2 separate regions of the Homo sapiens genome follow, and region 1 is linked to region 2. The links are contacts of gene promoters, found by promoter capture Hi-C in blood cells and fetal thymus (Javierre and others, 2016). All regions are on one chromosome and are shown on one strand. The core of a region is centred on a gene start or on the middle of the fragment in contact, and the rest is flanking DNA. Distances in the headings are between cores, read along the strand shown. Region 1 overlaps DNAAF9 (dynein axonemal assembly factor 9). Region 2 holds the start of ITPA (inosine triphosphatase).

Region 1 (5,826 bases), core at 1,335-3,834, 110 kb before region 2:
CGCTTCTTCAGTTTGCATCTGTGTGACCTTGGGCAAGATAGGAACTGTCTGTATCTGCTCCTTCAGCTACCCACCTTGTAAAGCAGTTGGGCACATAGATGTTAGCTGCTGTCACAGTGGGGTATTCTCTTACCATCAATATGGCTGGCATAGTCATTCTACTTCTCCTTTACTTGGGCCCTTGCCTAGGCCACTCAGCCTCCCCAGAGCAGGCCCCCTCTCAGTCCCAAGGCCTCCTAGGCCTAGGTGTCTGCCCTAGCTGGAGAAAGGCACAAGAAGAAAACACCAGTCAATGGGAGAAAAGTCCCCCAGGCCAGTCTTCCACCTAGAGCCCCTCCCCTTTCTCACCACAAAGATTGCTTCACTGAGGGCGGGGCGCAGTGGCTCACGCCTGTAATCTTAACACTTTGGGAGGCCAAGACAGGCGATCACTTGAGGTCAGGAGTTCAAGACCATCCTGACCAACATGGCAAAACCCCGCCTTCATTAAAAATGCAAAAATTAGCCAGGCATGATGGTACACACCTGTAGTCCCAGCTATTGGGGAGGCTGAAGCAGGAGAATCGCTTGAACCCAGGAGGTGGAGGTTGCAGTGAGTCGAGATTGCGCCACTGCACTCCAGCCTGGGTGACAGAATGAGACTCTGTCTCAAAAAAAAAAAAAAAAAAAAAAAAAGATTACTTCACTGAGGACCCTCAAACTGCTTCAGGTTAGCAGATCTCTTTCTCCCAAGAGGGGAAGGAGTGGGAGCCATGAATGCAGACAGTAATTAGTGTGTAGCTATCTAGTATGTGTTAATGCAAGAGATTACACTTACACAAGTTAGAGTAAGCTGAAAGGGTTTTCTAGTTATTTCTCAACTCTGAAGGCCTCACCCATGGCTCCACAGCATTTGACTGTGAGTTGCAGAGACGTGGCCTCTGCTTGCGCTCAGAGCAGGGATGGAGGGTCATTCTCAGTCTGCAGTGAGCAGCAGTCCTCTCATGTCATTTTCTCCTGTTGTGGTCCAAGAGTCAAGACCGTCCTTAGGACTTGCACAGAGGCAGGGCTGTGATTAGAGTCAGATTCTGGCCTCATACCTGCTGGTGGTGTGGGACCCTGGGGAAAGTATCCAAAATAGGGTAAATCTGTGTAAAGCAAGGATGACACACACCTCACTGTGTGGCCTTGAGAATCCCAAGCAGGTACCCTGCACAGGTATCTGAGGAGCAGGAGCAGACTGATTTTTCTTTTGTTTTGTTTCTGGTCTACAGCTCCAAGATGACTTTTCATATACATGCTGTGAATAATCAGGGAAGGTGCGTATATGATTGTGGTGCATCCTTACATGGAGCAAGTTTTAGGAAGATAAAGAGAGGGGAGGCTGCTGACATGAGTGGTTTTCTCATGCTTCCACACCTAGCAGTGACATCACTCCAGGGTTGGGCTTGGGCTGGCTGTGCTCAGCTGAGCCCCTGTACCCTGAGTGCTTCCCACTGCAGAGCTGAGGGGCAGAGGTGGGGATGGACATACTCACCTTAGTGGCCCACATACCAATTCTACAGACATGCAACCCAGTGTTTTGAAAGGCCCTAAGAGCAATCCGAATCTATGACTTGTCATTGCCAAGTTGAAAAAAGCAAACACTGTAAATTTAAGTACACTTAAAAACTCTTTAACATAGTCTTCCATCTCTTTCCCCTCCTAGAATTGTACCGCTGGACAGTGAAGATAGCTTATCCTTTGTGAAGACGGTAAGCAGAGCTATCATGGGTCAGCTGGCTGGGAATGGCCTGTAGAGGGACATCTGTAAGTTGGGAGGTGGGAGTGGGTGGGGGTCTTGGGCAGCCCACCCCACCTGAAGAAGCTGATCTTCTCTCAGTCCTATCCCAGCCATAGCAGGGGTGAGCCTGTGTTTACTGAAGGTACCCAGGTAGCTGTGCTAGGCCCACCCACATCTATTCTCCCTTGCCTAGGCTTCCCCAGTGTCCAGAGTCTTAACTGAGGTGTTGGGAGGCACCTCTTTCTGGGTTATGAAGCCTTCCTACAGGTAGCTGAGATTGCTCTTGTCGAAATGTGAATCCAGGACAAGCTTGCCTTGACTAACAGACTAAGTTTTTCAGTGGCATCTTTGAGTTCCAAGACTTGCATTGATGTCCTTAACAGGAACCTAGAGTTGAGACCAGTCTTGACAGCGTAGTGAGACCCCGTGTCTAAAAAAAAAAATTTTTTTAATTAGGCAGGTGTGGTGGCATGCACCTGTAGCCCGACCTCCTCAGGAGGCTGAGGCAGGAGGATCACTTGAGTCCAGGAGTTTGAGACTGCAGTGAACTGTGATTGCACCACTGCACTCCAGCCTGGATGACAGAGTGAGATTTAGTCTCAGAAAACAAACAAACAAAAACAGGGAACCTGAGAAAATTAACTACAGTCCTGTACCACAAAAGGACATCTTGGTCAACAGTGGACTGCAGATACAACAGTGGTCCCATAATATCATAATACTGTATTTTTACCCACCATTTCTATGTGTAGATATGCCTAAATTCACAAATATTACCATCATGTTATAATTGCCTACAGTATTCAGTATAGTAACATGCTGTACGGGTTTGTAGCCTAGGAGCAATAGACTATACCAGCTAGCCTAGGTGTATAGTAGGCTACACCATCTAGGTTTAAGTACACTCTACAATGTTCACACAGTGATGAAATCAGCTAATGATGCATTTCTCAGAATGTATCCCTGTCATTAAGTGATACATGACTATAATTATTTAAATGGCCAATAATCAACAGGGACCTGGGTCTGCCATGAAGTAGAGTAGTCAGAGCAACGTTTTCCAACCTGTGTGCTGGGGGCATGGTTTGGAGATGCACTGAGATAATGGTCCCTGGGGTGGGATGGCATGGCGAAGGGGAGCCAGAGTTTCTAGGCCAGTTGTTCTCAGCCACAAGCTGAGTCCTCCCTTTACCCCAGAACATCCTGATGTGAAGAAGATTGGCAAATGGTACATGAGAGGGTAGTACATATCTAGCCAAGATTCTGTTTGTGGTGTGTGTTATATCTTGAGTCTGTTCTGTGACCACTGCCTGAGCCTTAGTTTGAAAAAGCTTTGGTCCCAGGGAACTGGGTGAGCAGCACCCAGTGGATAATTTGGTACAAGCGCATCCCCATCACCATCACCTGTGGAAAAGTAACTCAAAAGTTCCTGTCAGTAGTGTTAACCTATCTACAGAGAATAGCACAACAAGGGTAATTTTTTTAAGGTTGTAATTTATGTTTTTATAATGTTCCTGGTCCCCATCTGTCAACATTTTGTGTGGATGTTCTTTTAGAACTAGTTTAGACTTTTTTGTGATATCATTAAAACATTGGGAAATACTTTCTGATATTTAGGTGATAATACTTTATCTCCTTGTTAGACTTTAAATCCCTGACTTCTCTCCTTAGACTCTTGAGCAGTGCTTTGGAAGATGCTTTGCATAGTAGCAGGTGATTAGGAATCCAGTAAAATCATAGTCTTGCGTCAAGTATGCACAGCTAATGAGATAGGAAATAAGAGGCAGGAAGTTGATGCTTTTTGTCTACATTCTGTCCTCTTATCCAGAGATGAAGTTCTATATCCTCCCCAAAGCCTTCCCTGTTGATTTCTCCCTACAAGTATTCCTATAGTCCTTGCAGTTGCAGTTTGTACTACACAAATTAAGAAATAATTATATCCTAATGTGTCATATGATATCATAATGTGTCATATGATGACCTTCATATAAGAATGCCCTTGTTTCTCCAGCTATACATTATAGATTTCCTGAAGACAGGCACCATGCTGTATTTTTTCTTTCCCCGTGCCACATGGTGGGAAGTACATAACAAGTGTCCAACAAATGCTACATGTTATCTTTTTAATATCCTCTCTTCCCTTCCTCAATACCAGTGGCCAAATATGAACATGAAGGATCAGGAACCCCCAGGATCTGTCCACCTGATTGGTCTGGGAACCAAAGACATAGGATTGCCATTGTCACTTAAGAGGGACCATGTAGCTCAGGAGGGTTCTGTGTCTTCAGATGCTCGAAATCCTTTGAGACAGCTTTAGATAAACCTTCCAGTTGTCAAACCTGAAAGGAAAGTTAATTCAAATATAGACGCCTACTTGTCTCTTTTGTATATCCTATTATCATAATAATATGGAAAATTAAGGGCTTTGGCCTTAACTGTGGTTTTTTTCCTTTCAACCTTGTGGCCTCTTTAAGTTTTTATTTGAAAATTCAGCAATCCGTTCAAGAGCCTCAGATCTTTTGTCTCTGTCCTAAGGGGTGGGACAGGCGTCCCAGGCTAGGACGACAATATGTGAAAGTGGACTTAGGAGATCTGCACCAGCACCCACCGCTCACTACTATTCAGGGTAGGAGGGGACAGGTCCTTGTGCTACTTATCCCATGTCCCTCATCAGATCTTCCTGGTCATCACAGACTCTAGCTCTAGCTAACATCATTTTCTCTTTCTTCTGCTGGCTTCTTCCCGGAATTGTTTCATTTTCACTAGTTTTTACCTAATAAATTAGGGCTTTCTTACCAGACATTTGGGAGCTCTCTGAGTTGTTCTAATTTTGTTTCCAGGCTACTGAAGCCTCAGCTTTTATTTGTCTTGGCCATAAAAGCTTGATAGCTTTCTTGCTTTTTTTTTTTTTTTTTTTTTTTTTTTGAGACGGGGTCTCGGTCCGTTGCCCAGGCTGGAGTGCAGTGGCATGATCATAGATCACTGCAGCCTCAACCTCCTGGGCTCAAACAATCCTCCTGCCTTAGCCTCCTGAATAACAGAGACCACAGGCAGACGCCACCATGCCTGGCTATTTTTTTTTCTTTTTTTTTTTTTTTTTTTTTTGAGACAGAGTCTTGCTCTGTTGCCCAGGCTGGAGTTCAGTGGCGCGATCTCAGCTCACTGCAGCCTCCACCTCCCAGGTTCAAGCAATTCTCCTGCCTCAGCCTCCCAAGTAGCTGGGATTACAGGCACACGCCACCATGCCTGGCTAATTTTTTTTTGTATTTTTAGTAGAGATGGGGTTTCACCATGTTGCCCAGGCTAGTCTCAAACTCCTGGGCTCAAGTGATCCACCCGCCTCAACCTCCCAAAGTGTTGGGATTATGGGCATGAGTCATTATGCCTAGCCTAATTTTTTCTTTAGTAGAGTGGGGATCTCACTGTGTTGTTCAGGGTGGTCTCAAACTCCTGGGTTCCTTGACCTCCCAAATTACTGGGATTACAGGCATGAGCCACTGTGCCTAGTCAGCATAAAGCAATTTGAGGGAATATACGGAAACATAAGGATACTTTCCTTATAGCCCAAGGGTGTCTCTGATCAGGGAGCAATTTCAGGGAAGCCTGGGTGATCCTAAAGTCACCTCCCAGTTCAAAGATGTATTTAGGATAACTCCAGTTTTCCCTAGAAACTCTTCAGTACTCTTTTGCCATGTTCCTTTAGGCAGTATTTGTGGTCTCATTCTTATGGACTTCTCTGAAAGTTTTGGGCTGGTAACTGATCTAACTGGTTTCTCATTCAATGCAGGCTTGTATGGCCGTCTATGACATTCCTGACTTACTGGGAGGCAATGGTTGTTTAGGATCTGTGGTTTTCTCTGAATCATTTTTGACTTCTCAGATCTTAGTTAAAGAAAAGGGTAAGTATATGTGATCTTTAGAAAGCAAACCTTAAGCCTTTTTTTTTTTTTTTTGGCAAAATAAACTATAAACTAAGGCAAAAGGCCAACAATAAACTGGTAAAAATATTAGAACTGATGATCACAGCACTGCACTCCAGCCTCAGTGACACAGTGAGACCCCGT
Region 2 (6,101 bases), core at 189-2,688:
GGGACTACAGGCACGTGTCACCATGCCCAGTTAATTTTTGTATTTTTAGTAGAGATGAAGTTTCATGATGTTGGCCAGGCTGGTCTTGAACTCCTGACCTCAGATGTTCTGCCCACCTCAGCCTCCCAAAGTGCTGGGATTACAGGCGTGAGGCACTGCACTCGGGTTCCAGCTCCTTCTTTAAGTGAGGGCAATATTCTCAGCCAGAGGTTTGGGGTCTCATGCCCACTGTCCTGCATGGGCTCTGTTCAGGGTGGACTGCCTGACTGGTCTGGCCTCAGGATCCCAAACCTTTTTTCGGCAAAAGGCTCTGGTTCCTGAGAAGGCCACTCAGTCCTGGCACCAAAGTGACATCAGTCCCTCCCTACACTACAGGCAAATGTAGGTGTCCCTAGTGATTACACCCCACTGGTCTGCCTCAGACATATCCAGTGGGTGTCATCCTGATCCCCCACACATGACCCCCACTCCATGGCTATGGCTGATTGAACAGGGGCAAACTCTTGATTCAAGCAAAGCCAGTCGGAGCTGATATCTGGTAGAAGCCTCATTGTTCCATCCCCCAGCAGGGAAGAAAGGGGAAAGATATGAACAGGAATAGGGATCAGCATCCAGAGAGAACAAGGACAAGTCAGCTTCTTGAGAGAACTTCAGGTCCTGTGGGACACGATAACACTATATTCCCACAGGAGTCATCTGGTGGCTTACATGAGCTCCCTGTGTGTTTCTGTTACTTGCTAGCCACAAAGTCCCTGCAAACAGAAACTTTAGATCCACTGCCTCCTTTACTCCTCCTCTCTATAGCGCTGTGAAGCAAATGTCCTGCATCATCCCCATTTCACACACGCGAAAAGAGGTTAGAACATTTCAGGACGGTGGTGAGGCACGGACTGCTCAGTGTGGAACTCCGTCCCACGCCCTCTCTGGGTCCTGCTAGCCCTGGCCCAGCAGCGGGATGTGGATAAGTCCCAGAAGAGTGTCGGGACACTGGGTTGGGGTCTACTTCAATAGGTGACCTTCGGGGCGGTTGTTAAGAGCCCCGCTACTCCTCCGGGTCCCGCAGTCGCTGACCACACAAGCCCTGTGTCGGGATCTGTCGAGACCCTCGTTCCCTCGCCAACCCCGGGGCGCCCCGATTCTGCAGCCACTCCCTTCTTGCGCCCCAGCTTTTCCACACAGCCGGGTCAGGACCCATTCTTCCGGGCTGAATTCTGTTCTCTCTCCATGCCTCCTCCCACGTGCTTCCCTCCTCCCGGAAGCCCCTTCTCCGCCCTATTCCCAGCCGCCTCCCAGTTAGCCCCCAACACCCTCCCGGCACCTCCTCCAGCTTCTTGGCGTTCCCCGTTACAAACACGATCTTCTTCCCCACCAATGAGGCCGCCATGGTGATCCCCGGTTACCCAGCTGAGCCACCGAAAACTCCTTGGCGTCCAGTGACAGAAAACTTCCGGCTGGTGGCGGAAGTGAACGGCTCAGTTTCCGGCCAGGGGTCCCGGGGAAAGCCGACCCGGACCCCAAGGCGCGTATCGGGCGAGTGGGCTCGCGGTGGCGGCCTAGCCCACAGCGTCCGATTTGCTGGGGGCCTCCCGAGCCTGGAGACTGAGTGACCCACCCCTCCTGCCTAAGGGACGCTATCTTCAAGAACCGGAAGAGACCACTCCCACCCCCACCCCGCCCCTGCTTTCGCTCTTCTCTGCAATGGGGTCTCCGAAAGGAGAAGACTGCAGCCCTGTGACCCTGGAGGTTTGCGCTCTCCTATGCTGTCTCAAAAAACTGCCTCCTTCTAGGCAAGGGCTTCCAAACCCTCATCCTGATCTCACCTTCAGCCTTACCCGCCAGCTATGATCCACTCGACTGTGAACTTAAACTCGGCATAGCCTAAAACAAGCCCAAACTTCTCACCCGTTTTCACTCCTAGGCTTGAGAGCTCAGTATGTAGAGTTCCTCACTTCCTCATCCCTCCAGCCTCTCAAATCTATCACCCCTTCTCCGTGGCCACCGTTTCAGCCAGATCTTTGCATTCCAAACACAACAGAAAGTAGGAAGTGCCCTCTCAAAGGTGGGTCTGCTGAACCTCTGCTGATACTCTCTTTGCAGCAAGTCATCTGACCTCCCTCCTCCAGAGACTCAGCCCTCTGCCCCCCGCCTGGACCCCTGTGTCAGTACCTCTTGAATGGCCACTTCTGCCCATGGACAAGAAAGGGAGGGAGTCTGAGTTCTTACCAAGCTCCTCAGGCCATTCTGATGCTCATCAAAGTGTGGGAAAGCCCGGTGGCTCACGCCTGTAATCCCAGCACTTTGGGAGGCTGAGGCGAGTGGATCACCCGAGGTCAGGAGTTTGAAACCAGCCTGACCAACATGGAGAAACCCCATCTCTACCAAAAAGTACAAAATTAGCTGGGCATGGTGGTGCATGCCTGTAATCCCAGTTCAGAGAATTCAGGATTCAGGAGAATCGCCTGAATTCGGGAGGTGGGGGTTGCAGTGAGCGGAGATCGTGCCATCGGACTCCAGCCTGGGCAACAAGAGCAAAACTGCGTCTGAAAAAGAAAAAAAATGTGTGGGAACCACTGCTTTGGGTGGTGACCTGTTTTCTTTTATTGAAGTAGAAACACTAACCATTATGCAGAGTCCCTAGAGGAGTGGCCATGGGGATTTGGGGGCAGAGGAGGGCTTGGGGGACATCAGTTACCCCGAGGAGCCTGAAAAGAAGAAAAACAGCCCACCTTACATGGATGCCTTTCTTGGATCTTAGCCAGCTCAAGCCCCAGCTCAGGAAAACCTTCCCTGAGCTCCCTTTCATCTGCTTGCATAGCACTGACCTCTGCACTGCAAATAGATATTCATTTGTGTGATTCTGTTTTCTCTTCTAAAAATCCTAATGGTAAAAACCATATCTGTTTTTGCTCACCTCTCTTTTTCTTTTTTTTTTTTTTTTTTGAGACGGAGTCTTGCTCTAGTCACCTGGCCTGGAGTGCAATGGCATGATCTTGGCTCACTGCAACCTCTGTCTCCTGGGTTGAAGCGATTCTCCTGCCTCAGCCTCCTGAGTAGCTGGGACTACAAGCACCCCCCACGACGCCCAGCTAATTTCTGCATTTTTAGTAGAGACGGGGTTTCACCATGTTGGCCAGGCTGGTCTCGAACTCCTGACGTCGTGATATGCCCACCTCGGCCTCCCTAAGTGCTGGGATTACAGGCATCAGCCACTGTGTTTTGTTGTTGTTGTTGTTGTTGTTTTGAGATGGAGTCTTGCTCTTGTCGCCCAGGCTTGAGTGCAGTGGCACGATCTCGGCTCACTTCAACCTCCGACTCCCGGGTTCAAGGGATTCTCCTGCCTCAGCCTCCTGAGTAGCTGGGATTACAGACATGCACCACCACACCCAGTGAATTTTTGTACTTTTAGTAGAGGTGGGGTTTCACCATATTGACCAGGCTGGTCTCAAACTCCTGACCTCAGGAGATCCCTCCACCTCAGCCTCCCAAAGTGCTGAGATTACAGGCTTGAGCCACGGTGCCCAGCCTCACCTCTCATTCTTAAATCCCAGCTCCTGGTACATAGTAGGTGTTCTGTAATGTAAGATAACTAGCTTGGGCACAGTGGATCACTTGATCCCAGGAGTTCAAGACAAGCCTAGACAACATGGTGAAACCCAGTCTCTACAAAAAATACAAAAAATTAGTTGGGCTTGGGGGCACACACCTGTAGTCACAGCTGTTTAGGAGGCTGAGGTGGGAGGATCACCTGAGCCTGGGAAGTCGAGGCTGCAGTGAGCCAAGAGTGCCACTGTACTCTAGCCTGGGTGATGTGAGTGAGACCCTGTCTCAAAAAACCAACAAACAAAAAGATCACAACTGACATCTATAATTACAAGTCCATAGATAACTTTCTTTTTCATTCTTTTATTTATTTATTTTTTTTGAGATGGAGTCTTGCTCTGTTGCCCAGGCTGAAGTACAGTGGTGTGGTCCCGGCTCACTGCAACCTCTGCATATTGGGTTCGAGCAGTTCTCCCACCTCAGCCTCCTGAGTAGCTGGGACTCCAGGCATGCACCACCATGCCTGGTTAATTTTTGTATCTTTCTTCTTCTTTTTTTTTTTTTTTTGAGACAGTCTCACTCTGTCGCCCAGGCTGGAGTGCAGTGGCGCGATCTCAGCTCACTGCAAGCTCCGCCTCCCGGGTCCCCACCATTCTCCTGCCTCAGCCTCCCAAGTAGCTGGGACTACAGGCGCCCACCACCACGCCTGGCTAATTTTTTTGTATTTTTAGTAGAGACGGGGTTTCACCGTGTTAGCCAGGATGGTTTTGATCTCCTGACCTCGTGATCCGCCTGCCTCAGCCTCCCGAAGTGCTGGGATTATGGGCATGAGCCACCACACCCGGCTAATTTTGTATTTTTAGTAGAGATGGGGTTTCTCCATGTTGGTCAGGCTGGTCTCAAATTCCCGACCTCAGGTGATCCACCCACCTCGACCTCCCAAAGTGTTGGTTGGGATTGTAGGCGTGAGCCACGGTGCCCAGCTTTTTTTTTTTTTTTTTTTTTTTTGAGACTGAGTCTCACTCTGTTGCCCAGGCTGGAGTGCAATAGTGTGATCTCGGCTCACTGCAACCTCTGCCTCCCGGCTTCGAGAGATTCTCCTGCCTCAGCCTCCCAAGTAGCTGGGATTACAGGCACCCACCACCACGCCAAGCTAATTTTGTATTTTTAGTAGAGACAGGGTTTCACTGTGTTTGTCAGGCTGGTCTCAAACTCCTGAGTTCAGGTGATCCACCCACCTCAGCCTCCCAAAGTGCTGGGATTACAGGTGTGAGCCACCTCGCCCAGCCCATATTTTTTCTTTTTCTTTTTCTTTCTTTCTTTCTTTTTTTTTTTTTTTTGAGACAGAGTCTTGCTCTGTCGCTCAGGCTGGTGTGCAGTGGTGCAATCTTGGCTCACTGCAACGTCCGCCCCCTGGGTTCAAGTGATTCTCCTGCCTCAGCCTCCCGAGTAGCTGGGATTACAGGCATGTGCCACCACGCCCCACTCATTGTTTGTATTTTTAGTAGAGACAGGATTTCATCACGTCAGCTAGGCTGGTTTTGAACACTTGACCTGAAGTGATCCGCCCACCTCGGCCTCCCAAAGTGCTAGGATTACAGGGGAGAGCCACCTCATCTGGCCCGTATTTTTTCAAATCCCTTTCTCACCATTGTTCATTGGTCCTGAATTTATTTTTATTTATTTTTATTTTCTGAGACAGGGTCTCACTCTATCACCCAGGCTGGAGTGCACTGGCATGATCATGGCTCACTGCAGCCTCGACCTCCCTGGGCTCAGGTGATCTTCCCACCTCATCTTCCCAAGTACCTGGAATCACAGGTGCATGCCACCACACCTGGCTAATTTTTGTATTTTGTAGAGACAGGGTTTCATCATGTTGCCCAGGCTGGTCTTGAACTCCTAGGCTCACCTCTACCTAGACTTCCCAAAGTATTGGGTTAACAGACGAGCCTCTGTGCCTGGCTCCTGAAATAAATCTTTACTTCTGTTATCATGTATACAAAAAGCTTAATAAATTCCAGTACTGCCCTCCCCTCCCCTCCCCTTCCCCTCAAAAGAAAGAAAGAAAGAAAGAAATTCAGTGTCACAGATACAGCAAAACCCCAACCCGCTTCCCTCCTCCTAGAGGTAATCGCTATCCTGAAGTTGGTGTGCATCAGTCCCAAGCCTCTTTTCGTACTTTTTCCACGGTTGTTTCCATAAACACTATGTGGGATTGTTTAGTGATTTTTAAAACATATATAGTCCGGGCGCGGTGGCTCACGCCTGTAATCCCAGCACTTTGGGAGGCCAAGGTGGGTGGATCACAAGGTCAGGAGTTCGAGACCAGCCTGGCCAACACGGTGAAACCCCCATCTCTACTAAAAATACAAAAATTAGCCGGGCGTGGTGGCGGGCGCCTGTAATCCCAGCTACTCGGGAGTCTGAGGCAGGAGAATCGCTTGAACCTGGGAGGTGGAGGTTGCAGTGAGCCGAGATCGCACCACCGCACTCCAGCCTGTGCGACAGAGACTCCGTCTCAAAAAAAAAAAACATACATAGATGTTTTCTACTGGACA

Evidence for each region. Contacts are between HindIII fragments. The CHiCAGO score rates a contact against its expected background, and 5 or more counts as called.
Region 1: a contact is called between a fragment that was not itself captured here and the fragment with the promoter of ITPA in region 2, in 1 of 17 cell types (fetal thymus). The highest score is 6.6, in fetal thymus.

The regions. Positions count from the first base shown.
Region 1 is chr20:3,318,124-3,323,949 of GRCh38, reverse strand. DNAAF9 (dynein axonemal assembly factor 9) reads left to right here. Exons shown (of 37, transcript NM_001009984.3): 15 at 1,254-1,298; 16 at 1,688-1,733; 17 at 5,550-5,661. Among named protein-coding and RNA genes, the nearest start is that of SLC4A11, 82 kb to the right of the region's middle. The HindIII fragment of the contact is 1,022 bases long and covers 2,074-3,095 here.
Region 2 is chr20:3,204,835-3,210,935 of GRCh38, reverse strand. It overlaps ITPA (inosine triphosphatase), which reads right to left and starts at 1,438. Exons shown (of 8, transcript NM_033453.4): 1 at 1,319-1,438. The coding sequence starts at 1,384. RefSeq lists enhancers at 1,243-1,312, 1,195-1,843. The HindIII fragment of the contact is 7,672 bases long and covers 1-5,551 here.